Regions from separate parts of the Homo sapiens genome. Here region 2 is linked to region 1. The links are contacts of gene promoters, found by promoter capture Hi-C in human tissues and cell types (Jung and others, 2019). All regions are on one chromosome and are shown on one strand. The core of a region is centred on a gene start or on the middle of the fragment in contact, and the rest is flanking DNA. Distances in the headings are between cores, read along the strand shown. Region 1 holds the start of MFAP2 (microfibril associated protein 2). Region 2 overlaps CROCC (ciliary rootlet coiled-coil, rootletin).

Evidence for each region. The method cuts DNA at HindIII sites, captures the fragments that hold promoters and counts their contacts. A contact is called where the count stands out against the background at its distance.
Region 2: a fragment that was not itself captured here is called in contact with the fragment with the promoter of MFAP2 in region 1 in 1 of the 25 tissues and cell types used here (mesenchymal stem cells).

What each region holds. Positions count from the first base shown.
Region 1 is chr1:16,976,980-16,983,461 of GRCh38, forward strand. MFAP2 (microfibril associated protein 2) reads right to left here and starts at 3,641. Exons shown (of 9, transcript NM_002403.4): 1 at 3,608-3,641; 2 at 1,258-1,335; 3 at 130-219. The coding sequence starts at 1,294. It overlaps LOC105376806 (a long non-coding RNA gene), which reads left to right. Exons shown (of 2, transcript XR_947003.3): 2 at 690-816. RefSeq lists enhancers at 1,403-1,908, 1,909-2,416, 2,417-2,922. The HindIII fragment of the contact is 9,522 bases long and covers 1-6,482 here.
Region 2 is chr1:16,940,449-16,945,719 of GRCh38, forward strand. It overlaps CROCC (ciliary rootlet coiled-coil, rootletin), which reads left to right. Exons shown (of 37, transcript NM_014675.5): 14 at 3,652-3,834; 15 at 5,014-5,158. Among named protein-coding and RNA genes, the nearest start is that of CROCC, 21 kb to the left of the region's middle. The HindIII fragment of the contact is 8,412 bases long and covers 1-5,271 here.

The sequences.
Region 1 (6,482 bases), core at 2,391-4,890:
GGGGCAAACAAGTTCCCTCCTGAGCCAGGGACCAACCCCCAGAGTTCCCATCAGCGTGTCCAGTGCGGTCCCTGGCTGAGCCAGGCACATCTGAGCAGCCAGGCCTCGGTGACCCGGCAAGGCCCTTACCGATCTGGTCGCTATAGTGGGTGTACTGGACGTGGTCAGGGAACGGCGGCAGCGGGTCCAGGTCATACTGGCCCTGAGCCAGCAAGCCTGCTGTGGGGAGGCAAAGCATGTAGGGTACCCCATCGGGAGGGGCAACGGGGGCCCGAGGCGCTTCTGGAGAGTGGAGGCGGGGGTCACAAGGTCAGGCCCATAAGAGCCTAGGACCCCACAAGCAGATTCCTAGAGGATCCAGACTCTTCTTCGATGGTAAAGACCCTTCCCCACCCTGGTCATGGGTCACCTCCCTGACCTTACCCTGCCCCTTCCTGTTGCTGGCCTCCTGGCTGCTCCTAGGACTCCACATGCTCCTGCCTCCCTCAGAGCCTTTGCACCTGACACTCCCTGGGCCTGTGAGGCCTGCTCAGCTCCTTCAGGTCTTCCCTGGAATTTCAGCTGTGCCAAGATGCCGCCCCACCTCCAGCCCACCAGCCCTCCTGCTGATTTCTGTCCAGCACTCAGCACATGCTGGAGTTTCTCATGTCTGCTTGTTTCCTATTTGTCTCCCTTCCCTGGACTGGCAGCATGATGAGGAGCAACGATGTGTCTGCCTGGTTCATCGCTGAATCCCCAGGGCCTAGCCCAGCACTTGGCACGTGGTAGGGACTCAACACATCGCTGCTGAATGAATGAATGTTGGCCCTGCTAGGACTTTTGTGGTCCTCATTGATTCTCTTCATTTGGCCAGTAGGGACCCCCACAAGGTCAGGACTGTATAGAGCAGAAGGGCCCTGAATGGATCTAGAACTCAAGCATCCGGACTCCCTGCCTTGGGTGCCCCTGCACCTGCACATCGGCTCCCAGAGAGGCCTTGTGCCTTGTGCCCACGGAGTCCTTGTGCCTGGGACGTGCCCTCCAGAACCCTGCCTGCCTGCTGCTGTGGAAGGCTGGGGGAAGGGCCAGGAGCTGCCTCCAGATGCTGCCAGGGTTGGCTGGTCCAGTCTGTGGTCCAAGCAGGCAGAAGGCCCTGGGAGCTGGGGAGCTGAGTTCTGGTCATAAGTCGTGACAAAGGCTCACTATGAATTCCCCCTACTAACCCTACTCCTCAGCCCCACATAAGAGGAGCTACCCCCTGCCCCAGGAGCCACTTACCAGGCAGGAATAGCAGGAAGAGGTAGGCAGCTCTCATGGCAACAAAGAGGCAGGCCGGGGTGGTGTCAGAGAGGACAGCTGGGGAAAGACCGGTGGGAGAGCTCTACCCAGGGCCACACCCAGGACAGCAGAGCTCACCTTTGATCCCCTGATTTCGCCCTGGAGAAGGTGGCACCCAGAATAGAAGCCAGGCATGGGAGGGCTGGAGTGGAGGGACATCCCAGTCCCTGCTGGCCCACCCAGGTGTTCAGGTCACAAGGGACAAGGCCTCCAACCCAGCTCCAGGGCTGATCCTGACAAGCAAACCCCGTGTAGTGGGTGTACTTGATGTGGTCAGGGAAGGGCGGACCCTGCCCTGCTCACTAAGGGGACATTCCTAATGTGCTCCCAGCCCAGGCCATTCTGTCCTCACCCACACCCGTGCTCAGCCCTCTGGCCCAGTGGCTCCCTGGGTGTCCAAGGCACTGACTGCGTGAATCACTGAACCCAGGCCCATCCTTGGGACCCCAGCCCTGGCCAGCCGGCATCACCGCCTGGACTCAGCAGCTTCTGCCAAGCCACCACCTGCTCCCAATTAGCCCCTGGGCCCTAAGCATCCTGCTCAGCAGGAAACCACATACACATGGGCCTGCCCGGCCCCCAGAGCGGCCAGGCCGGGCAGGGCTCCCAGCTCCCAGAAGACTCCTCTCCTGCCAGGCCTCCAGGCCTCGCAAGACCTGGCTGTGTGCATCACAGGCTCACGAGACCCGGGCTATTTGCAGCAGCAGGAAGCACGAGAGTGAAGCCTGAGGGGGCTCCTCTGGATCCCAGAAAGGCAGCACTGAAGGGGCCGTGACATCACCCAGGCTGGGGGTTCTGCACCCCCTGACACTGTAGGCAAGTGTGTGTGTCATTTGGAGGGAGAGGGCATGGGGTCCGTGGCTTTCATCAGGCTCCTGACATTCAAGAGCCCAGCCTCCAGTCCTGGCTACACGGTGGGACTTGGGGGAGCCTCCGGTTCCCCACATCCAGCCCCAGCTCAGTGGAGGGCCACCTCAGGTCCGTCAGCCTTCTGTAGGGAGGGCTGCGAGGGCGGGGTCCATCCAGGAGGGCCCCTCCCGGCTGCAACCCAGGAAGTCCTTTCAGAGAGCTAGCTGGAAACCCCAACTTTGGTCTATTTTCCCCACTGGGAGTCCAGGGAGAGGGGAGGGAAAGGGGAGAAAGCAGGAGGTCTTTCCCTCCTTCCTCTCAATCCTGAGGCCTCCTGACCCCCTGGCTCCTCTCATGCATTAGGCACCTCACTAAGGTGGAGTGGGAGCCGGGAGACGAAGCTCAGGACCAAGCTGCCCCAGAGGCGAGGGATAGCTGGCTCCCCACACCCCATTCTGAAAACCCTTGACCTCCTCATGGGAGGGGGATGAAAAGACCCAGAGAGCCTTCCTTGCCCTTCTCCCCATCCGTCAGGTCGGTCGGAGCCCCCGCTGCTCAGCAGAAGGCGCTGAATTGGGGCAAGAGGGGTTGCAAGGTGTTGGGGGATGCCTGTCGGTACCCTGCGGGGAGTCTTCCTCCCCTAGGACTGGCCCCCGAACCCAGGCTTATTGGGGGAAGGAGGCCCACGGGCTAGCGGGGAGGCAGGAAAGAGAGAAGTCAGTGTGGAGTTCATGAACTCCTCCCACGGGACCACATCTCCGAGCTCTTCTAGACGAAGGGGTTTTGGGGCGTGCGGGAGGCCAGGACCTGCCTGGGAGGCTGCCCCACCCCCACCTCTGGCCTCTTCCACAGCTGCGGCCTCCCCCACCCCCGACTCCCCTGCGTCCTGGGAGGTGGGGGACAGGGGGCCCCGACGCTCGCTCAGACATCAGACGGAGGGAGGGCTCTGCCGGCTCCAGAGCCGGGCTCAGGGGGAGGGGTCCCGGCGGGAGAAACCCAGATGTTGCAGCGCCGCACAGCTGGGAACAATCAGCCGCGGAAACTTGCTCCGCGCGCCCTCGCGCTCCCGTCTCTGATCTCTCTTTGTCTCTCTGCGTCTCTGTCTCGGCCATTCCCACCGGACCCCCCCCCCCCACCCCACCCGCCACATTCCAACCTCCCCGGGAGAACAAAAGATGTCCCATCCCCCGACGACCTCACCTCTGGCTCCCCCCAAACTCGGGCTCCCCGCCCTTCCCAATTCGCGTTCTCTCTGCAGAGCAACCCCAAACTTTCCAGGTGCCCCCTTGGCCTCCGCTCTGAAGGCGCGGGGTTCAGGAACCTCCGCGGCTGCCCCAGGATCGAGGACCCAGAGAGCCTGGCACCCTCGCCCCCGCGCCGGGGGACCCGCCGACGCCCCTGACCGCCCCCCGGGGCCCCCAAGCGCCAGGCCCGCGCCTACCTGTCCGGGTCACTCCGCCGCCCGCTCCGAGTCCGCCCGCCGGAGCCGCCCCTTGGCCCGCTCCGAGTCCCCCTCCGGGCCCCCGACGGGGCTGGCGCCCGCCCTCCAGCCCCGGAGCCGCTGGGTCCTAACGCGAGCTGCCCGCATGGGCCGCCACGCCGTGCCCTCGGGGTTCCATCTCCTGGGGGGGGGGGTGTCCCCGGGGTAGAGGCGCCCGGGGCCGTCCTCACGTCTGTGCAAAGCTTCCTCCTCCTCACAGCTGCTCCTCACTCGACGTCGACGGGGTGAGGGGGGTGAGGTGGGCAAGGGTAGGTGTGTTGCCCATTTCACAGAGGAGGAAATCAAGCCTCCCAAAGTGACTCACCCTAGGCCCCTCAGCCAGAAAGTAAGCCTCGATCTCCCTCTGCCTTCTCCCAGCTTCCAGGACACTCTCCTGCCTTGGTTTTCCTTCTGCCTCTCCAGCCAAGCCTGCTGCCTCTCTCAGGCCCGCACCCTCCTCTCCTACACTGCTGAGCTCTGGGCCATGGCTGGCTTCCACAACCAGCGGTTCTTTCTTTCCTTTTCTAGAGACAGGGTCTTGCTGTGTTGCCCAGGCTCGTCTGGAACTTCCGGCCTCGAAATTTTGGCCTCAAGCATTCCTCCTGTCTCATCCTCCTGGGCTGTTGGGATTACAGGCATGAGTCCCTGCCCCCGGCCATAACCAGCACCTCTTTCAGCCCTGACCCAGCCTATGTGTCCCACAAATGTCCTCAAGATGCATCAGCTTCAACAAGCATCCAAGTCCAAATTCACGACCTCCTAACTCTCCCCCAGACCTGGCCCTCCAGGATTCCCAGTCCCCCCTTGGCCCCGCAGCCTTCCATTACCCAGGCTTCCTCCCCTGCCCTTAGCCCTGCATCTAATCCAGCACCCACCCGTGAATGCTACCTGAAAAATTTCTTTTGTGACTCCGTTCACTGCTCCCACCCTGGCCTAAGCCACTGTGAGACCAAGTTGCAATCCCAAGAAACCGCATTTGCTCTTTCTGCTTGTCAGAAGCTGACAAAGCCCTGACTCAGTGACTGGGGGCAGCCCAACGGAAGGATGCCTTGAAGATGGCAGGCAGGGCAGAACACAGGCTCCCACGCCTCTTGCCTGAATCACTGCATTGTTAGAAAATATAAGTTAAATGATCCTGGCTGTGCCTTTTCCTGTACATAAGATAGCACCTGACAGGATTGACGATTATGCCTCTATAATCTATATAACTAGGTGCATCCTCGAACCCAAACCTTGGCGAGATTTGCACTAGTGTAGCTTCTGAAGACATTTGATGTAAATTTTTCTTCTTCTTTTTTTAATGAGACCGGGTCTCGCTCTGTCATCCAGGCTGGAGTGCAGTGGCACCATCACAGCTCACCTCTTGGGCTCAAGTGATCCTTCCACCTCAGCCTCCCAAGTAGCTGGGACTACAGGCAAGAGCCGCCATGCCTGGCTAATTTTTTTTTTTTTTTTTTTTTTTTGTATTTTTTGTAGAGAAGGGGTTTTGCCGTGTTTGCCCAGTCTGGTCTCAAACTCCTGAGCTCAAGCAATCCACCCGCCTCAGCCTCCAAAAGTGCTGGGATTACGGACGTGAGCCACCGTGCCTGACCATAGCTTCTGAGCACACACAGAACCGCCTGCCTCTGTATCTAAACTGTGGGCTGAAATGCTGCTTTGGCGCAGTCTAACAGAAACTCTCTGAAACCCTCTCCCAGGGTGCAGTCCTCAGTAAGACTCAATAAAACTAACTTTAATTTTTTCAATGGCTGATTTTTTTTTTTTTTTTGAAATGGAGTTTAACTCTGTTGCCCAGGCTGGAGTGCAGTGGTGTGACCTCGGCTCCCTGTAACCTCCACCTCCCGGGTTCAAGAGGTTCTCCCAACCCAGCCTCTCGGGTAGCTGGGATTACAGGCACATGCCAGCATGCCAGGCTAATTTTTGCTTTTTTTTTTTGAGTAGAGACAGGGTTTCACCATGTTGGCCAGGCTCCTGACCTTAGCTGATCCGCCTGCCTTGGGTTCCCAAAGTGCTGGGATTATAGGCATGAGCCACTGTGCCTGGCCAAAAGGTGGATTTTTTCTTTTTCTTTTTTTTTGAGACAGGGTCTTGCTATCTCCCAGGCTGGAGTGCAGTGGTGCATCCTCAACTCACTGCAACCTCTGCCTCCTGGGTTCAAGCGATTCTCATGCCTCAGCCTCCAGAGTAGTGGGGACTACAGGCACCCACCACCATGCCTGGCTATTTTTTTTTTTTTTTTTATTTCTCGTAGAGACGAGGCTTCTCCATGTTGTCCAGGCTCGTCTCGTACTCCTGACCTCAGCTGATCCACCCACCTTGGCCTCCCAAAGTGCTGGAATTACAGGCGTGAGCCACTGCACCTGGTCAAAAGGCTGATTTCTTATTTAGTTGACACCACCATCATTTGCCTGGGCTCTGCGATAGCCTCCACTCTGGGCTCTCCCACGTGGGTCCTGCCTCCCTCACCCCCGCAGATCGTGCCCCTTCTACTGATCGCCTTTCACTCAGGTTAGAGGCTCAACTTCCCTGTGGCTTCCAGGGCCCCGGCCCTTTATGGCAGCCTGGCTCTGCCTCCTCTTCCTCCTCCAGCCACTGGCCTTTGGGGGTTTTCTCCCAAACCCCTCTCCCTCCCACACTGAGGCGTTTCTTCCTCCCGAGCACTGGCTGAGGTCTCCTCCATGGGGTCACAGATCAAACCCTCCCTTCCTCAGAGGGGCCTTCCCTTTTTCCTTTTTTTGTGCTTTCTAGCTTTACTGCTTGCAGTTGTCTTGTTGGCCTATGTCTGTGACCATCTGAGCCCTGTCCCTCTTCCCGATGAGACTGTCATCTTGCCCCG
Region 2 (5,271 bases), core at 2,687-5,186, 36 kb before region 1:
CGCGATCTTGGCTCATTGCATCCTCCTCCTCCCGGGTTTAAGCAATTCTCACCTCAGCCTCTGAAGTAGCTGGGATTATAGGTGCCCACCACCACGCCCGGCTAATTTTTTTTGTATTTTTAGTAGAGACGGGGTTTCACCATCTTGGCCAGGCTGATCTTGAACTCCTGACCTCATGTTCTACCCGCGTCCATCTCCCAAAGTGCTGGGATTACAGGCATGAGCCACCGCGCCCGGCCAACATTTATTTTTTAGTATTCAGTTTTGTTTTGTTTTGTTTTGTTTTGCTTTGTTTTGAGTCACACTCTTGCTCTGTTTCCCAGGCTGGGGCACAATTGGTCCATCACAGCTCACTGTAACCTGGAACTCCCAGACTCAAGCGATCCTCCCACCTCTACCTCCCAACTGCCCCTAGTTGGGGGCCTGGGCCTGGCCTGGGGAAGGATATGGGACCGAAGCCTGAGAGTTAGGTTTCCACTCCCTTCCTCTGTGCCCTCACCACCCTCTGAGCCCTCACCTCCCTGGGTTCCTGGGCAACTCTGATCTCAGCCTCGAGGATAGTAGACAAGCCGCCAACATTTCTAAATTTTTTGTAGAGATGGGGGTCTCACTATGTTGCCCATGCTGGTCTTGAACTCCTAGCTTCAATCACTCCTCCCACCTCAGCCTCCCAAATTGCTGGGATTACAGGCATAAGCCACTGTGCCTGGCTCTATTAAAATTTAATTAAAATTTTTAAAAAGTGAAAATTCAGGCTGGGTGTGGTGGCTCACACCCAGCTTGCTGGCCAACATGGTGAAACCCTGTTTCTACTAAAAATACAAAAATTAACCAGGCATGGTGGCATGCTCCTGTAATCCCAGCTATTCAGGAGGCTGAGGTGGGAGAATCACTTGAACCCCGGAGGCAGAGGTTGCAATGAGCCAGGATCGTGCCACTGCACTCCAGGCTGGGAGATAGAGCGAGACTCCATCTCAAAAAAAAAATAATAATAATAATGCTGGGCCCGGTGGCTCACACCTGTAATCTCAGCACTTTGGAAGGCCAAGGCGGGCGGATCATGAGGTCAGGAGATTGAGACCATCCTGGCTAACACAGTGAAACCCCGTCTCTACTAAAAATACAAAAAGTAAATTAGCTGGGCGTGGTGGCAGGCACCTATAGTCCCAGCTACTTGGAAGACTGAGGCAGGAGAATGGCCTGAACCCGGGAGGCGGAGCTGGCAGCGAGCCGAGATGGCGCCACTGCACTCCAGCCTGAGCGACAGAGCAAGACTCCGTCTCAAAAAAAAAAAAAAAAGAAAAAATTCAGTTCTTTAGTTGCCCTAGCCACATTTCAAGCACTCATCAACCATACATGGCCATAGAACATTTCTGTCATCTCAGCGAGTTCTATTGCCAGCACTATTTTGGACTGTATTTCTTGGAGTTTTTTTTAGAGATGGGGTCTTGCTGTGTTGCCCAGGATGGTCTCAAACTCCTGGCCTCAAGTGATTCCCCTGCCTCGGCCTCCAAAAATGCTGGGATTAGAGGCATAAGCCACCATGCCTAGCCTTGAAGATTTTTTTTTTCTCTTAATTTGAGACAGGGTCTTGTTATGTCACCCAGTCTGGAGTGCAGTGGTGCGATCTCATTTCACTGCAACCTCCACCTCCTAGGCTTAAGTGATCCTTCCATCTCAGCCTCCTGAGTAGCTGGAACTACAGGCACACACCACCACGCCTGCCTAATTTTTCTGTTTTTTGTAGAGATAGGGTTTCGCCATGTTGCCCAGGCTGATCTCTAACTCCTGAGCCCGTCTCGGCCTCCCAAAGTACTGGGATTATAGGTGTGAGCCATCACGCCAGGCACCCTGAAGATTTTTAAGACAAGAAATTATCCACTTCTTAGCTGCCAGGTTGTTTTTGATATTTTGTTGTTTGGTTTTTCTCTTCATAAATGTAACCATCTAATGAAAAGTTTGAAAAATAGGAATAAAAAGACAGCGCCTTCTCACAGCCTCATCTGCCCATCCTAATTCATTTAGGGCACTGGTTTTCCTTCCCATTGTGTTGCCTGGCAGTGAGATAGCAAACGTTTCCTGCACACCTACTGTGTGCCAGGCTCTTGGCCGAGTGTTTTGTATGTACTCTGTGATTTAGTCTTCCTGTCAAACTCATGCAATTCGGAACTCTGTTGTTGTAAGCTTGAGAGACTGGCTCAGACTCATACAGCGTGTGTGGCTGGGGGTGGCAGGGTGGGAACTGGAATTCAGGTCCATGTGAGAGTAAACCCAAGCTTTCCATGCCTGGAAAGGAGAAGGTCTTTTTAAGCAGTTGTGTTCACAGCAAACATCCCATTTTGCATTCTGCTATTTTTACTTAACAGCACATTGTCGACTGAGCGAGGTGGCTCACACCTGTAATCCCAGTATTTTGGGAGGCCAAGGCGGGTGGATCACTTGAGGTCAGGAGTTTGAGACCAGCCTGGCCAACATGGCGAAACCCCATCTCTACTAAAAATAAAAAAAAATTGGCCGGGCACAGTGGCTCACTCCTGTAATCCCAGCACTTTGGGAGGCCGAGGCAGGAGGACCACCTGAGGTCGGGAGTTCGAGACCAGCCTGACCAACATGGAGAAACCCTGTCTCTACTAAAAATACAAAATTAGCCATCCGTGGTGGCACATGGCTGTAATCCCAGCTACTTGGGAGGCTGAGGCAGGAGAATCGCTTGAACTCTGGAGGTGGAGGTTGCAGCAAGCCGAGATCGTGCACTGCACTCCAGCCTGGGCGACAGAGTGAGATGCCGTCTAAAAAAAAAAAAAAATTACTGGGCGCATTGGCTCATGCCTGTAATCCCAGCACTTTGGGAGGCCGAGGCGGGCAGGTCATGAGGTCAGAAGATTGAGACCATCCTGGCTAACACAGTGAAACCCCCATCTCTACTAAAAATACAACAAATTACCCGGACATGGTGGCGGGCGCCTGTATTCCCAGCTACTTGGGAGGCTGAGGCAGGAGAATGGCGTGAACCCGGGAGGCGGAGCTTGCAGTGAGTGGAGATTGCGCTACTGCACTCCAGCCTGGGGGACAGAGCGAGACTCCGTCTCAAAAAAAAAAAATAAAACAAAATCACGCTGTGAAGTTTTTTCGCACCTATGGCCAGTGGGGAACGTGGCAGCTCATGGCAAGTCTTTGGGGTCCCAGTTGTTCCCTTCTCCTCCCTCCCCTGCCGTGGCCACCATGTGCCTGTGTAGCAGGAAGCTGTGGGATCTGCAGACTCAGCTCTATCAGGCTTCCCAGAATTGAGGGGCATGGGGTGTTATAGGGGACATTTCCTGGTCACATGGCCTAGCAGAGCTGGTGGCACAATTGCCGTGTGTCCCAGGAGCCTAGCTCGGCCTCTTCTACCTGGTAGGGTGCTTGGAGATCACACCAGCACCTCCATCCACTCCAAGTGGGCGGACTGGAGAGAAGGAAAGCCAGGTTCTTCTGCTGGAGTGTGTGAGTGAAATGAGTCAGCCATGGACAGGGTGGTCAGGGAAGGCTTCCTGGAGGCAGGTGCCTTGGAAGACTGGAGGATGTAGCTCATGGCTAGAGGAGCAGCCAGCCACCTTCCCTGCAGAGAGCAGCCCCAGCATCCCCTCTGCTCCCCCTCCCCTTGTCCTGAAGGGAGAAGAGCAACCTGGCCCACAGCCTGCAGGTGGCCCAGCAGCAGGCCGAGGAGCTGCGGCAGGAGCGGGAGAAGCTGCAGGCTGCCCAGGAGGAGCTGCGGCGCCAGCGGGACCGGCTGGAGGAAGAGCAGGAGGACGCAGTGCAGGATGGCGCGCGGGTGCGCCGGGAGCTTGAGCGCAGGTGAGCAGCATCTCGCCACCCTGCCAGGACCCTTCAGATGTGCCTCGGGTCCCCTGACAGTGCCCCCCTGGGGTTAGGTGACACCCACTGGGTCCTGGGCCTCCTACCGTCTGGACCCCTCCGATGTCGGGTTTTCTAACCAGACCCATTTCAGGAAACTGGGGCTCAGGGAGGTATAGTCACTTACCTGGAGTCAGAGAACTAGTTAAAAGGTAGAACTTGGATGATAATAACAAGAATAATTAAAATAACAGTAGTAATATTAGCAGTAGTATTTTAAAAATTTAGTTAGAAGAATAATAATATCCTTACTAATTTCACTAAGTGCCAGATACCATTTTAAGCAATTCAGTTCTCTCATTTAACTCCATGATAACTCTGTGACATAGAAGCGGTTATCTCCATTTTGTGGATGGTAAACTGAGGCACAGAGAAGCCATGTCACTTGCCCCAGGTCACACAGTTAGCAGAAGAGCCAGGATTTGAACCCAGACATTCTGCCTTCAGAGTTAACCTCTTCACCACTGCGCTGCTTACCTCTCAGGGACGTGATCGATGATGATGTTTAGTAGACTGTGGTGGAGCATGTTATTCTTGTTTCTGAAGGTCCTTGGGGAGATGTGTCAGGCACTATTTTAAGCACATGTGAAGTTTGTATCCTTAAAACAGGCCGGGCGCAGTGGCTCACGCCTGTAATCCCAGCACTTTGAGAGGCCAAGGCAGGCAGATCGCCTGAGGTCAGGAGTTCCAGACCAGCCTGACCAACGTGGAGAAATCCCGTCTCTACTAAAACTACAAAAATTAGTCAGGCGTGGTGGTGAGCACCTGTAATCCCAGCTACTCGGGAGGCTGAGGCAGGAGAATTGCTTGAACCTGGGAGGCAGAGGTTGCAGTCAGCCAGGATCGCACCACTGTACTCCAGCCTGTGTGACAGAGCAAGACTGTGTCTCAAAAAAACAAACAATGTCACGAGGTAAGTGTTACCTCATTTTGCAGATGTGAAAACGGAGGCCCAGGGTCATGGAGCTAAGCGGTAGTGGGCTTGGTTGCCCTGTGGCTCAGGCTGTTTCTCTCCAAACTCCTGCCTCAGGCCTGGTCCCCAGCCCAGCATCTCGCTGGCTACAGGAGGTTCGGGGCAGGAAAGTGACATGGGCCACCCACCCACCCTTTGTCCCACAGCCATAGACAACTAGAGCAGCTGGAAGGGAAGCGCTCAGTCCTGGCCAAGGAGCTGGTGGAGGTGAGGGAGGCGCTGAGCCGCGCCACACTGCAACGGGACATGCTGCAGGCCGAGAAGGCCGAGGTGGCCGAGGCGCTGACCAAGGTGGGTCCCTGTCTGCTGCACAACCACAAACCTACCTCTGACCCCCAGCCCCAAGCCTTGTCACTCTGGCACAGACTGGTCCCAGTGTCAGGCAGACCTCTGAGCCTGGTCAC